5 separate regions of the Homo sapiens genome follow, and all the other regions are linked to region 4. The links are contacts of gene promoters, found by promoter capture Hi-C in blood cells and fetal thymus (Javierre and others, 2016). All regions are on one chromosome and are shown on one strand. Each heading gives the region's core, a stretch centred on a gene start or on the middle of the fragment in contact. The rest is flanking DNA. Distances are from core to core; before and after follow the strand shown.

What was found. The method cuts DNA at HindIII sites, captures the fragments that hold promoters and counts their contacts. A CHiCAGO score of 5 or more calls a contact.
Region 1: a contact is called between a fragment that was not itself captured here and the fragment with the promoter of NFATC1 in region 4, in 16 of 17 cell types (M0 macrophages, M1 macrophages, naive B cells and 13 more). The highest score is 16.7, in M0 macrophages.
Region 2: a fragment that was not itself captured here is called in contact with the fragment with the promoter of NFATC1 in region 4 in 1 of 17 cell types (endothelial precursors); the score reaches 6.4 in endothelial precursors.
Region 3: a fragment that was not itself captured here is called in contact with the fragment with the promoter of NFATC1 in region 4 in 1 of 17 cell types (erythroblasts); the score reaches 5.1 in erythroblasts.
Region 5: a contact is called between a fragment that was not itself captured here and the fragment with the promoter of NFATC1 in region 4, in 1 of 17 cell types (erythroblasts). The highest score is 6.5, in erythroblasts.

The regions. Positions count from the first base shown.
Region 1 is chr18:79,634,845-79,637,629 of GRCh38, forward strand. No RefSeq gene overlaps it. Among named protein-coding and RNA genes, the nearest start is that of CTDP1-DT, 44 kb to the right of the region's middle. The HindIII fragment of the contact is 5,621 bases long and covers 1-2,785 here.
Region 2 is chr18:79,566,144-79,568,843 of GRCh38, forward strand. No RefSeq gene overlaps it. Among named protein-coding and RNA genes, the nearest start is that of CTDP1-DT, 110 kb to the right of the region's middle. The HindIII fragment of the contact is 1,690 bases long and covers 463-2,152 here.
Region 3 is chr18:79,605,094-79,607,931 of GRCh38, forward strand. No RefSeq gene overlaps it. Among named protein-coding and RNA genes, the nearest start is that of CTDP1-DT, 73 kb to the right of the region's middle. The HindIII fragment of the contact is 1,972 bases long and covers 492-2,463 here.
Region 4 is chr18:79,394,607-79,397,325 of GRCh38, forward strand. NFATC1 (nuclear factor of activated T cells 1) reads left to right here and starts at 1,324. Exons shown (of 10, transcript NM_001278669.2): 1 at 1,324-1,745. The coding sequence starts at 1,619. RefSeq lists enhancers at 1-74, 1,716-2,263 and silencers at 1,160-1,559, 1,920-2,019. The HindIII fragment of the contact is 8,960 bases long and covers 1-2,719 here.
Region 5 is chr18:79,587,197-79,589,896 of GRCh38, forward strand. It overlaps LOC284240 (a long non-coding RNA gene), which reads left to right. Exons shown (of 4, transcript NR_148949.1): 4 at 1-1,822. Among named protein-coding and RNA genes, the nearest start is that of CTDP1-DT, 91 kb to the right of the region's middle. The HindIII fragment of the contact is 1,857 bases long and covers 361-2,217 here.

The sequences.
Region 1 (2,785 bases), core at 36-2,535, 240 kb after region 4:
CCTGGGCCACCCAGCTGCCCCCTCCTGTCCTCCAGTGAGAATGAAGCCCATGCAGAGGAAGGCCCACCGGGCCCCTGCCCCCTTTCTGTTGCACTAGGGTCCCAGCCACGGCATCCACACTTGTCCAGTCCCATTAGGAACACCCCAAGTGTTAGGAACACCCCAAGTGTTAGGAACATGCCTAGTGTCTGTGCTGCTCACTCAGGCCTCACAGCTGGTGCTTCCTCATTGAGTCAGCGAGCTTTCCTTCCCAGAAAGTGAGCTTTCCTTCCCAGACGGTGTCTCAGCATGGCCACTCTGCCGTGCATGGCACCAGCGCACACCCCATCCCTGGACGGTCACACTCCTGGCTATGCCCTCAGCAGACAAGGCACAGTGACCAGCGCCTGTCTTAACCTGGGAGAGACACCTGAGCGGCCAGGACAAGTTTTACTCCTCCTTGCAAACCCTGGCGAAACATCCACAGAGAGTGGAGGCTCCGCGGTGCTGTCCCCTGTGCTCCGCGACAGGGATGGAGCTACTCAATCAAATCCAAATCCCGCCGTTCCTTAGGGCCTCGGGGAATGGGATGAGAATGAAGAGACAGCGGCCGAGACAGTGGCTCCTGATCACTCCCCGGGAACAGCCTCTCAACTGCGCCATCACTGATGGCCCCGTCGGTCCCCGCATCACACGTCACAGCCTCTCAACTGCGCCATCACTGACGGCCCCGTCGGTCCCCACATCACACGTCACAATGTTTTCATACTCTAAAGCACAAGCGCATGTTTCAATGGGGTCGTGGATTTTGTAATAATATTTTAGCTTGGAACTGGTAAGAAACTAAGGCAAATTAAATTCAATGCTAGTTTACCCTTGTATTTTAAAAGATGTTGAAAATAAACAGCAAACACCACCAATGCTCTGCTGGCATTCACTAACAAGCCACGCCATCCCACCTGCTCTGAAACGCTCTGTCTTCTGGGTCCCTCCGTGACCCCCCCACACATCCTAGACATCCCTTTTCCTGTGGTCTTTTTTGGCTCTCTGTGCCCTTCCCCCAATACTTATTGGAATATTTACTTATTTTTGCCTCTTCCCTAAACTGTACATTCCTTGAGAGAAGAAGCGTTTTGATTATTATTTTTTTTATTTTTTTAACCTTATCTCCTTTTTTTTTTATTATTATACTTTAAGTTTTAGGGTACATGTGCACAATGTGCAGGTTAGTTACATATGTATACATGTGCCATGCTGGTGTGCTGCACCCATTAACTCGTCATTTACATTAGGTATATCTCCTAATGCTATCCCTCCCCCCTCCCCCCCACCCCACAACAGTCCCCAGAGTGTGATGTTCCCCTTCCTGTGTCCATGTGTTCTTATTGTTCAATTCCCATCTATGAGTGAGAACACGCGGTGTTTGGTTTTTTGTCCTTGCAATAGTTTACCGAGAATGATGATTTCCAGTTTCATCCACATCCCTACAAAGGACATGAACTCATCATTTTTTATGGCTGCATAGTATTCCATGGTGTATATGTGCCACATTTTCTTAATCCAGTCTATCATTGTTGGACATTTAGGTTGGTTCCAAGTCTTTGGTATTGTGAATAGTGCCGCCATAAACATACGTGTGCAATGCCACCCCCATCAAGCTACCAATGACTTTCTTCACAGAATTGGAAAAAACTATTTTAAAGTTCATATGGAACCAAAAAAGAGCCCACATCACCAAGTCAACCCTAAGCCAAAAGAACAAAGCTGGAGGCATCACGCTACCTGACTTCAAACTATACTACAAGGCTACAGTAACCAAAACAGCATGGTACTGGTACCAAAACAGAGATATAGATCAATGGAACAGAATAGAGCCCTCAGAAATAATGCCGCATATCTACAACTATCTGATCTTTGACAAACCTGAGAAAAACAAGCAATGGGGAAAGGATTCCCTATTTAATAAATGGTGCTGGGAAAACTGGCTAGCCATATGTAGAAAGCTGAAACTGGATCCCTTCCTTACACCTTATACAAAAATTAATTCAAGATGGATTAAAGACTTAAACGTTAGACCTAAAACCATAAAAGCCCTAGAAGAAAACCTAGGCATTACCATTCAGGACATAGGCATGGGCAAGGACTTCATGTCTAAAACACCAAAAGCAATGGCAACAAAAGCCAAAATCGACAAATGGGATCTAATTAAACTAAAGAGCTTCTGCACAGCTAAAGAAACTGCCATCAGAGTGAACAGGCAGCCTACAGAATGGGAGAAAATTTTCGCAACCTACTCATCTGACAAAGGGCTAATATCCAGAATCTACAATGAACTCAGACAAATTTACAAGAAAATAAACAGCATGAGGAGGCCCAAAGAGCTGTTATAAACTCCTCGGAAACATCAGAAAAGCCATCTGAAATTTAAAATAAATGGGAATCCACCACTAAAAAATCCGAAATCTAAATGAACAAACCAATAGCCCACAGCCTGCTCCGAGTGACGCGGCCTCCACACGGACCCTCCGCACCTGCAGAGCCGCTCCGGGTGCCCGGCCAGGCCTCCGAGGGACGAAGTCCCTTTGGGGAAAGACATTTACCTAGAACACGCCAACATCTACAAGGGGTGAAATGGTCTTAATAAAGGGTTACATCTTCTGAAATGCTGCATTTTAAAATCCCGTCTCTCTCTGTCTTTAGGGTCCGTTTCCTTCCTAAGGCAGGTGCAGAGCCCGGCCTTGCTGCGCCTTCGGGGCGCGGGCATCTCCCGGCCCAGCTCCGCCCTCCTCCCGCGCTGGAAGCCGCC
Region 2 (2,700 bases), core at 58-2,557, 170 kb after region 4:
AAATGCCTTGTTTTTGCTGTGAACATGCTGTGACACAGGTGTGCGACTGAAGCTGACACGGCGGGGGGCCGCGTGAAGGGTCACAAGTCGTGTGCACGCCTGCCTTCCTGTTCCTTTGAGGTGAGGGTCCCGGGTCGTGTGCACGCCTGCCTTCTTGTTCCTTTGGGTCTTTACTGGAGCTCATTTCTGGGCTTGTTCTAAGAGTCATTTCCGGAGAAGTCACTTGGGGAAAGGAGGAGGAACAAGAGAAAGTGGGACGTAGCGAGGGACCACCGCAGAGACGGATGGGGCTTAGCCGCAGCAGGTTCTGGAGGGACCGTGGCTACATCAGAGGAGCTCCGAGGGGACTAACTCAGCGTGCCCTGTGCGTTTGTGTGAGATCCGTCAGCCTCGCATCCGCGTGCCCCACCGCCTGGACTATCCTTGCTTCCAAGAGTGCCCCGTCCCTTTCTCATCTACAGAAGCTTAAACTGTCGTCACATGTGGCCTCTGAATTCTTTCTTCTTCTAAGCCAGGGCTTTGCAACTTTTTTTAAACTGAGACCCACAATAAGAGGCACATTGTACATCACAACCAGCACGTACACGCAGAAGTGAAATAAGAGTTTGTGAAACAGCACTCCCTCTGATGAGTGATTCCCTGATAGAAATCACGACTTCCATTATGGTCATAGAAATAGGTGCTTCCATGCTGCTCTGCTCCTTTTTGAAAATGCTCGTTAGGACTCATTAAATTGATTTCACAACCAGCTGTTTCACAAACAGGTCTAAGTCGTTGCAGCCTGGAAGCTGCTTCTCTGAGGAGGCTGCGGCAGCACTGACCCGAGGGCCCGTCCTCATTTCCGCCTCTTCCCGGCCTCTCTCGCACGGGTCGTGAAACCCACTGTGTCCCCATCACCCCATCCCAGAGGACTCTCTTCTTCTGTCCCCACCCCACAATCCTCCTGCTGTACCTTTCCCCAGGCCCCACCGAACTGCACGGTGTCAGTGACTCGCCTCGGTGCCCGGGCACCCACCCCTGGCCGGCGCCAAGCCCGGCCTCATCCTCGTCCCTCTGGCCTCAGGCTGTGGGATCTGCCCTCATTCTGTAAAGGCTTTTGTGTCCCTGAAACGCTTCCTTTGTTGTGACGAGACTAAGGTGTGAGACAGGATTACAACACACCAAAATGCAGCCACGTCTTAGGCCTGGAGTTGTGGGTGACTGGTAGCATATTCTTTATATATTTGCATTGCATTTTCCAACTTGTCTCCAATGGATCACGTTACTTTTAGGACCAGAAAGAAAACTGACATTAGGATGAGAAGAAGTGGAAAGGCATTGCTGGTCCGTCTGTCTGGGTCTCGCTGGTGCCGCCCCTGGTCAGGGGGTGCTGGCTGCAGGTGGTCTGTCCCGGAGCCTGTGGCCCATTTTCAGTGAGGAGCAGGAAAGCCCAAAGCTGTTGCTGGCGGCTGGTGGTGCTGCTGCGGGGGGCTCCACGCGGCGGGGCCATTGCTGCCCCTCAAGGGCACCGTGGGGGCCCCCAGTCTGCGGGGCTGGCGAGTGGCTTCCTGGCACAGATGTTTTTTATATGTTTGTTCCAGCTATGTCTGGCTAAGCCGCCTCTTTCTAAATGCAGGGCCTGTGCACACATTTGCTCCGGGGATTTTTTTCTACTTTGAAAGGCAGCTCTCGGCAGGGCTGGCTGTGTTTCCTTTGCGATGTGAGCTGCTCGGTGTCGGATGTCACGGATCTGGGGTGTTGGGGACGTGGAGGAGGGAGGCGCAGGCCTCTGCTCGCCAAGGCGGATCCCAGCCCGTCTGCAGCCTCACCTCCTGTTTCAGTGGCCATGCTGATGATGTCACCCACATACCGAAGTGAACATGCTATTTCCTGACCTAAAGTCAGCCAAGGGGAGCGGGCAAGTCTGTGTGAATCTTCCTTTCCCCCTGAGATGGCGAAGTCAACACAGAAGACGTGGTTTCCCTGAGCTCCGGCTTCTGGGCTCTGAGTTTCCCCCCAGCTCCCTCCACTTCTCCGCTGTCCGTCTCCTCCATTTGTCTAAGGGAAGAGACAGGGAAGAAGAAGTGTGGCCTGGGTGGATTCTGGCCCTAAAGTGAAGCATAAAAGAATAAAGAGAAAGAACAGGACATCTCCACGAGCTCAGGGCAGGCAAAGCTTGCTCAGGGCAGTCAAATAGGACACAGAAAATCCAAGCCATACAGGAAAAGGTTAATCTCATTTGACTTCGTTAAAATGATAAACTTTTGTTCATCGAAAGACATCATTCCAAAAAGAAGAGGCAAGTCAGACTCAGAGATTGGTGGTCCATGCAGCCAACAAATAACCAGAATATATATAAAGAACACTTACATATCCATAAGAAACATGCTAACAGCTCTATTTTTTTAATGGGCAGAATACTGGCACAGGAGTTTCACAGATGAGGATATCCAAATGGTCAGTCCACATTGGAAAGGTGCTCAGTGTCACCATTCATCAGGAGGACAACCACGAGATGCCATCATCCCCCCACAGAAGGCTTGAAGCCCAGAGGACTGACGGGGCCAGTGTCAGAGGGGGTGCAGGGCAAACAGCCCATTGTGGACAGAAGCCTCAGTGGACGCAGCCACCTTGGAAGCGCTGGTTATTGGTGATTCTTTCTCTGCAGGTGGTCCGACCTGTGTGCCCTCACTGGCTCACCACTCTTCCCGTGAGCTTAGG
Region 3 (2,838 bases), core at 228-2,727, 210 kb after region 4:
CGCACACATGCACACACATACACGTGTGCACGCGCAAATGCACACATACACACGTGTGCGCACACACATGCACACACATACACACGTGTGCACACACAAACCCTGCTTCAGAGCTCAGCCCTGGAGGAGCATCACGCTCGCCCAGCCTCCTCACATTTCTGTACTTCTTCAGTCAGTTACAAGAGTATGGATTCTTGGACGCTTACTTTATGTCTTTGTAACCCAACACTACTTTATTTCTTGAGGGTGTAGCATCCAACCAAATTCTCCGGAGTTCTTCTGTAAGGGGACTCTGTCTCTTCTCCCCTAAACTTACTATTTAGCATAATGATTCTTAAGCTTTAGAGAAAGCCATTGTTTAGTATTTGTTGGCAGCGTGAACATAGTTTATCATCTTTTCCATCAGAAAATGCAGCACAGCACAGCTGTCCTCTGTCTCCACCTGTGTGCCCAGAGCCAGGGATGCCCCTCCTCGCCCTCCTGCGCAGCAAAGCTTCCCTCTGCCTCCCCCAGGGCTCCTTCTCTGCATTTGCCCGTGGCCCGGAGCCCACCCTGCTCTGCTCATCCAGCACCTGGACCCCTCGCCGGCTCCCGAGCTCGTGCCTTGGCTTCCCCACTGGGTCTGCGCTCCTCTGTGTGCTGGGGCTCCCACACCCAGTCTGCGTTCCCCGCCAGGTCTACGTTCCCCGCCAGGTCTGCGTTCCCTGCCAGGTCTACGTTCCCTGCCAGGTCTGCACTCCTCACCTGGTCTGCCTTCCTCACCTGGTCTCTGCTCCTCACCTGGTCTCTGCTCCTCACCTGGTCTGCGCTCCTCACCTGTTCTCTGCTCCTCACCTGGTCTCTGCTCCTCGCCTGGTCTGCGCTCCTCACCTGGTCTGCGCTCCTCACGTGGTCTGCGTTCCTCACCTGGTCTGCGCTCCTCACCTGGTCTGCGCTCCTCACCTCACCTGGTCTGCGCTCCTCACCTCACCTGGTCTCTGCTCCTCACCTGGTCTCTGCTCCTCGCCTGGTCTCTGCTCCTCACGTGGTCTGCGTTCCTCACCTGGTCTGCGCTCCTCACGTGGTCTGCGTTCCTCACCTGGTCTGCGCTCCTCACCTCACCTGGTCTCTGCTCCTCACCTGGTCTCTGCTCCTCACCTGGTCTCTGCTCCTCGCCTGGTCTCTGCTCCTCGCCTGGTCTGCGCTCCTCACCTGGTCTGCGCTCCTCACCTGTTCTCTGCTCCTCACCTGGTCTGTGCTCCCCACCTGGTCTCTGCTCCTCACCTGGTCTGTGCTCCTCACCTGGTCTGCGCTCCTCACCTGGTCTCTGCTCCTCACCTGGTCTCTGCTCCTCTGCTCTGTGTCGCCTCTGGCCCTGCTGTCACCACTGCTCCCAACCTCCTCCACATCCCAGTTCTCCAGGACTGCAGTCCATGTGCGAAAATGCACAGACCCAGGACACTCGTGGAGACTGCGAAATGGTGAAAGGGTGTGGGGCAGGGAAACAACTCTGGCCAGGGCCAGCCCGGCTCCCCACGGCCCTGGCAGCTCCTCACACGTCCAGCTGCACAAGGCACTGAGATTGCACACGGAGGAGCCTCAATGGCCTGCGGGATTCATGGCTGCTGGCCAGAGACACGACCCTCCAGGGTGGTTTTCACAGCAATGGTGGTTTTGAGGATTGGAGCCAGGCCCGGGACCTGCACACACACAGGGAGCCCTGGCAGGGAGACCCCAGATCCCAGGCGGAGGGAGCCACTGCCCCGGCCCAGGCGAGGCACCGTCTCTGCCTCCTGCAGATGTCTTTGAAAAGATCATCTGGACATGCCACAAGAGGCCGTGGAGTGCTGTCCCCGACAACCCGCCCTCAGAGTCCCCGCGTGTGAAACGCCAAGAGGGTTCCATGAGGTGAGGAAGGAAGACGGCGCCGCGGGGGGTGCCCGGCGTTCACAGCGCTCACAGGAGCCTGCCCAGCCCTTCCGCCAGGCCTGGGGCGGCCGAGCACAGACCACACATGCTCTGCCTCTTGCCCCACAGCCTGTGGAGACACAACAGCAGCCACGCGGCAGGCAGGGCCTCCAGCTAACTCTTGTGCACACACTAATGCACACCAGCAACACGCCAGGGGCCTCAAGGGCCAGGGCACAGGGAGGGACCTCTGCTCCTGGGACAGCAGCCCTGTGGGGGGATCCAAGGCCTGAGCCCCGGTGAGCAGCTCCATCAGGGCCCGAAGGCCCCGTCTCCATGGGGCCAGAGGGACGGAGGCTGATCACTCGAGCCAGGCACTTCCCACAATCTTCCTGTCCCTGCCCTCAGTACCCCTGAGGAGCGTGGCCCCCTCCTCACTGTGGGTCCAGGCCCAGAGAGGAGGGCGCTGGGGCTGCTGGGCCTTTTGGGGCAGGCCACGGGCACCCTCAGCTCCGCAGAGACTCCTGAGAGCCAGGGAGATGCCTTAGAAAGGAAGCTCCAAGTCTTCTTGCTGGAAGCTTTCAGCACCGAGTGCAGATGCCAGCCCCAGTCCTTGGCCCACGGACCAGGGCACAGGAGTCTGAAGCCACTCACAACATCCCCTCCTCCAGGGCTTAAAACGCAGCCGGGGCTCACGCCCTCTTGGGGGCTTCCGCGTGGCCTGTACCTGTGAGGATGCCGGCAGGCTTGGCGCACGGGTGGCTCCGGGGTCAACTCCACGGGCGCTGCCCCCACCCTCGCTCCCGCAGTGCCTGAGCCCCACTGCCCTCCCCACTGCTGGTGTGCGTGCACCTCAGGCCCCTCCGGGAGCTGCACAGAGTTCACGCCGGGTCAATCCACCATCCACTGCATGGAGAGGCCAGCGGCCTGGGGCAGCTGTGCTGGGTAAGG
Region 4 (2,719 bases), core at 74-2,573:
GGCCACCACCCCGCTAATCCGGGCACGTCTCTCCAGGCCGAGGCCTGCGGTGGAAAAGCCGGGGTTCCATTTGTGCTGAGTCGGGGCGGCCGAATGGAGCCAGGCCTCGGGACGCGGGACGGACGGGCTCTGGCCGCGCACCTTCGCGGGCTCTGCAGCGCCCGACCGCCTCCCCCGGCAGGGAGGAGGCGCTTGTGGGGGGCACCCACGGGGCACAGTGATCCCTGGGGGTCTGCGGACCTCCTGGGCCCCGCAGCAGACACGAGTTTAGCCTTTGGGTTTAGTTTAAATCACATAAGGGTGTCGTGCAATCGATTTATGGTTTCTACACACCAGACACTTTAACCTCCAACCCCCCCCATCCAAAGCCAACAAGAAAATGCGGTGCCGTGTTGGCAGCTGAGCTGCGCCCGAAGAGACGCAGGGAGACGTAAGAGAGGAAAGTGTGAGTGGCCGGGGGGCCTCCCCCCGTCAGAAGTCGCGCAGTCGCGCCCATAAAACGCCCCCTCCGGGCGGCTAGGGCAGGTGAGCGCGTCCCCGGGCCTCCCCACGCCGGCCCCTGCCACAGGCCGTCTAGGTCGAGCAGATATTTACAGAATAAAAATGACAATAACTCGACGTCCCGGGACGGCCACGCAATCTGTTAGTAATTTAGCGGGATGGGAATTTCCTTTCTAGGGCCTGCCAGTGAAGCGCTTTTCCAAATTTCCACAGCGGGGGAAGCCTGCGATTTTACATAATGACTTCAGCATGCCGGGCTTTCTCGACACCCCTCCCCGGCCCCCGGCCCCCGCCCCCCGCCCCTTTTCCAGCAGGGCCGGGCTCCCTCCGGACACCCGCGTGGACTCAGGCGTCCCGTCTGGCCCGTTCGCCCCCGTTTCCCCCGCCAGCCCCAGCGCCCCCCTGCCCGGCCCCCGGATTCCCCGTTCCCGCCCCTACGCCCCCATCCCCTCCCCGTGCGCCCCTCCCCGTGCGCCCCCCTCCCCGTGCGCCCCCCCTCCCCGTGCGCCCCCCTCCCCGTGCGCCCCCCCTCCCCGGGCGCCCCCCTCCCCGGGCGCCCCCCCTCCCCGTGCGCCCCCCCCTCCCCGTGCGCCCCCCCTCCCCGTGCGCGCCCCGCCTCTTGCGCCCCTGCCCCCAGGCGAGCGGCTGCCGCGGCGCGGGGAGGGGCGGGCGCTCGGCGACTCGTCCCCGGGGCCCCGCGCGGGCCCGGGCAGCAGGGGCGTGATGTCACGGCAGGGAGGGGGCGCGGGAGCCGCCGGGCCGGCGGGGAGGCGGGGGAGGTGTTTTCCAGCTTTAAAAAGGCAGGAGGCAGAGCGCGGCCCTGCGTCAGAGCGAGACTCAGAGGCTCCGAACTCGCCGGCGGAGTCGCCGCGCCAGATCCCAGCAGCAGGGCGCGGGCACCGGGGCGCGGGCAGGGCTCGGAGCCACCGCGCAGGTCCTAGGGCCGCGGCCGGGCCCCGCCACGCGCGCACACGCCCCTCGATGACTTTCCTCCGGGGCGCGCGGCGCTGAGCCCGGGGCGAGGGCTGTCTTCCCGGAGACCCGACCCCGGCAGCGCGGGGCGGCCGCTTCTCCTGTGCCTCCGCCCGCCGCTCCACTCCCCGCCGCCGCCGCGCGGATGCCAAGCACCAGCTTTCCAGTCCCTTCCAAGTTTCCACTTGGCCCTGCGGCTGCGGTCTTCGGGAGAGGAGAAACTTTGGGGCCCGCGCCGCGCGCCGGCGGCACCATGAAGTCAGCGGAGGAAGGTAAGCCCCGCGCGGCCTCCGCCCCCGGACCCCTGCGCCCCCCACGGCCCGGGCCGCGCCCCCCGACCCCGCCCCCGTCGCCCGCACGGAGGGGTCCGGGCCAGAGAACGAGGTCGGCCGGGTCTGTGCGCCCAGGGAGGGGCGCGGCGCGGACCGGGAACGGCGTCCCCCAGCTCCCAGCAGCCCGGTTCCGAGCGCGCCTTCTGCCAATAGGTGTCTCCTCTGCCCCAGCGCTGAGGGCGCGAGGCGAGGCCGCCGCGGGTCCCGCCGAGGAAGCGGCTCGCAGGCCGGCGATTTGGGGACGGGCGAGGCTGGGCCGTCAGGACCACAGAGGGCACGTGGGAGGGAGGAAGGGAGGCTTCCTTGGGAGTGAAGGATGCCCCGTGTCTTCCTGAGCGAGGCAGAGCCACCCTCTGGCGCCAAGATCGCGGTTTGGGGGTTCTGCGCCCCCCACCCCCACCCCGAGCTCGTGGCGGCGTCTCCCTCGCGCCGCGCCCCTGAATTCCCCAGGGCCGAGCCCGTCACGCCGGCTCCTGGACCTGCAGGACCAAAAGATCCAAAGCGCGGCCGCAGCACAGCCCCGAATTTAAGCCATTTTGAAATCCTATAGGCAGGAGTTCCAGCCAGAGAAGATGTTTCAGGCAAGTTTGAAAAGGAACCGCCAAGTTTCGAGCTGCTTCTTTATAGTGAAAAAAAGATGGCACAGTGTGGGTCCCTGAAACCCGGTGTGGGGGGCGCTGAGACCCCCCTGCGGCGCATCTCACATTCCAGTCCCCCACCTTAGCCCGTCCCCGGCACACACCCCTGGCGATGCCGGGTGGGCTCCTGCAAGTGGCTTTGAAAATACCCTTGCAGAGGTGTGAGCATACGAGTTAGGGATTAGGGATTGCAATGCTAATGGAAATTGGAAGACGCTTTTCCAAATTCCTTACCAGCTCTGAAATATTTTATATAATTTATTTAAAGAGCGCCAG
Region 5 (2,700 bases), core at 39-2,538, 190 kb after region 4:
GTGGATTTTCTTCACTGTGGCACAGTCCTGCTCAGTTTCTAGTCCTGATGGAGGTGGTGGAGGCCCTGGTGGAGGTGGATTTTCTTCACCGTGGCACAGTCCTGCTCAGTCCCTGGACTGCCCCCCTGCACCCAGCAGCACAGGCCGCAGAGCCCAGGAGATGTGGGCAGGAGCTTTCCCCTCGCCTGCCCCACTCCTGCCCACCCAGTGGGCACCCCGTAGATGGGAGCAGCTCTCCGTCTAGCACTTGGACTGCTGGGCTGAGTCATGGCTGCAGGCAACGGCTTAGTGGCATCTCCCAGGTGCCACTGCAGGGATAGCCTCTGTGTCTCCAGGCTCTGCTGTGGCCCCGCGGAGCCAAGCTTACCCATGCCGCTGAGTCGGGGGCTGCAGAGGCCTGTGCGGGCTGCGGTGGCTAGACCTGGGCCTGGCTGCTCAGATGCTGCTGGAACCCTGCTCTCAGCCTGGAGGCTGGCAGGTCTGCCAGGGGCCAACGGGCAGGCATCGCCCGTCTGAAGCTCTTTGCCTCTGAAGGAGCTTCAGCGCCAGCCAGGGGCAGTTTATGAGAAATTCAGAGAAACATGTAGGCTTCTCTGTGTCTTCTGAAGAACTGCCAATGCCTCACCCACCTCTGGCCAGAGGACTCTGGAAAACTTGCGTTTCTGGTATGTATAGAAAAGCGACATGCTAAGCCGCAAAGCCGCCCCCTTCAAGACGCAGCACACGCAAGGCTCACCCTGCCACGAGCACTGGTACCGGCTCACTTTCCGCTCTGCTCGGCGGGACTCCGGCCAGGCCCAGCGTGCAGCTGCAGAAAGGTTTAGAGTGAGGCTTCCACTTCACTCTCCGGTCCAAGAGTTATACTATCTGGTGGAAGTGTTTCTTTTTCCTTTTTTGGACAGTTAAGCTACAGCGATGGGCCAACTGGCACCAGTGTGGAGAGACAGGTATTCCTCACTTTGTGGCACCAACGTGGTTCTGGCAAAGTGGCCTCTTTTCCAGTAAAACAGTCTTCTCCCCTCCCTCGCCTTCCATTTTAGGACCAGTGGTTTGTCCCTGGGGAAGCAACCCCAATTACAGCCAGCTTTGCCATCTGTGGAAATAGCCTGGTCACCAGAGGCACAGAAGCCAGATGCGTGGCCATGCCGGCGGCAGCACCCGCGGCAGCACCCGGGGCAGCCCCTGCCCCCGACCCATGAATCTCAGTGTCCCCCAGGCCGCCCACGTCCCACTCTGCCCAGCCTACACCACCTCCCTCACCGCAAAGTGCCCGCTCTGCAGCTCCATGCCCCTGCCCAGTGGAGCCTCAGCCCCGTCCCACCTGCAGCATGCCCAGCCCAAGTGCCCGAAACCCAGAGCCTCGGACTCAGGGCAAAAGGAAGCCGCCCCATTCCACCACATCAGGGTCTCCACTGTGCTTATTTAGAGCAGAGCACAACTCTCCTTGCGTCTGAGTCCCTTCACACAGGTGACTGAGAGGCTCAGGACAGAGCATTGCAGGGGAGACAGAGGAGGGGCTCGGCCTCGCCAAGCAGCTGGCTCTATTCATTTAGCAGAACCGCTGCCCCACCCCCTCCCAGCCCCTGCACGGAGGGAGGCCACTGGGGCCGGCCCGTCCCCAACTTCTATTTTGTTTTCGCCAGAGCCGCCTCCAGACTCCCTCTTCACATTTTATGTCAACTCTGGGGCCCTGCTGGCTGAAAGTGAGTTCTGTTTTCCGGCAGCCCTGTGGCTTTTGGACTCGGCCTTGAAATTAGTTCATGGCGACCCAGGCACACATCGCGCTGGGAAGCCACGTGGGAGCCGTGCGGGTGGAGCGGCCGCCACAGCCAGACTGAAATGTAGCACAGCGCCTGGGCCTCGTCAGGCCTTTATGACAGAGTGTAAAGGGAATTGCTGCTTAGTCACCAATTTGCTTGGCAAGATTGGATGGATTAGGAAACACGTCGAAGGTCAGACAGTAGGAGTTTGTCTAGACGCTCTATTTTGGACTCGGCGCTGACCCGAGGTGTTTCTGTAGCAACCTTTACAACACTGCTATTCTGGCAATATTGGAGAAAACATGATCCCTCCCATCATCAGGTAGGGCCCGCTCTGAAAATCCTCGCCCCATCGCTGGGTTTGCTGAGGCGCCTCCAACTCCATTTAGGACGAGGAAGCCCGACGGGGAGGCCCCTGGGAGGGACCGGCTGCTTGGGCGGAGGCCAGGCCTCGGGAAGCTTGTCCAAGGCTCACAGGGAAAAGCGCCAAGAAATGGAAGTGGCTCATTTTTCCTCTGGGCCTGAGGGGAAGGTTTTGATTTTACAGCCGCCCCTAGTCATTTCTCACAGGTTTGAAGCAGACCTTTCCAGGGACGGGGGAGGGAGAAGGGAGATGGGGAAGGATGGGGAGACGCCGTGAGGAGGCAGCCACCTCCGGGGATCCCCGGAAGCCTGGACGTGCTCTGCCCGGTGGTTCTGTCCCCAGGGAACACGTGGTCATGTCTGGAGGCATCTGTGGCTGTCACAGTCATGGTATGGGGTGCTCCTGGCATAGAGGGGTGGGGCTGCTTCCTTTTGCCTGTCCCTGCTGCCCTCCCCGCCCTCCATGTCTCCCTGCCACCTGCCCTGCCCTCCCCACCCTGCATGTCTCACTCTCCATCGTACCTGAGGGCCCTCTGCCAGCTGGGAGAGGGGACAGCCCAGGCTTCAGTTTCCCTGC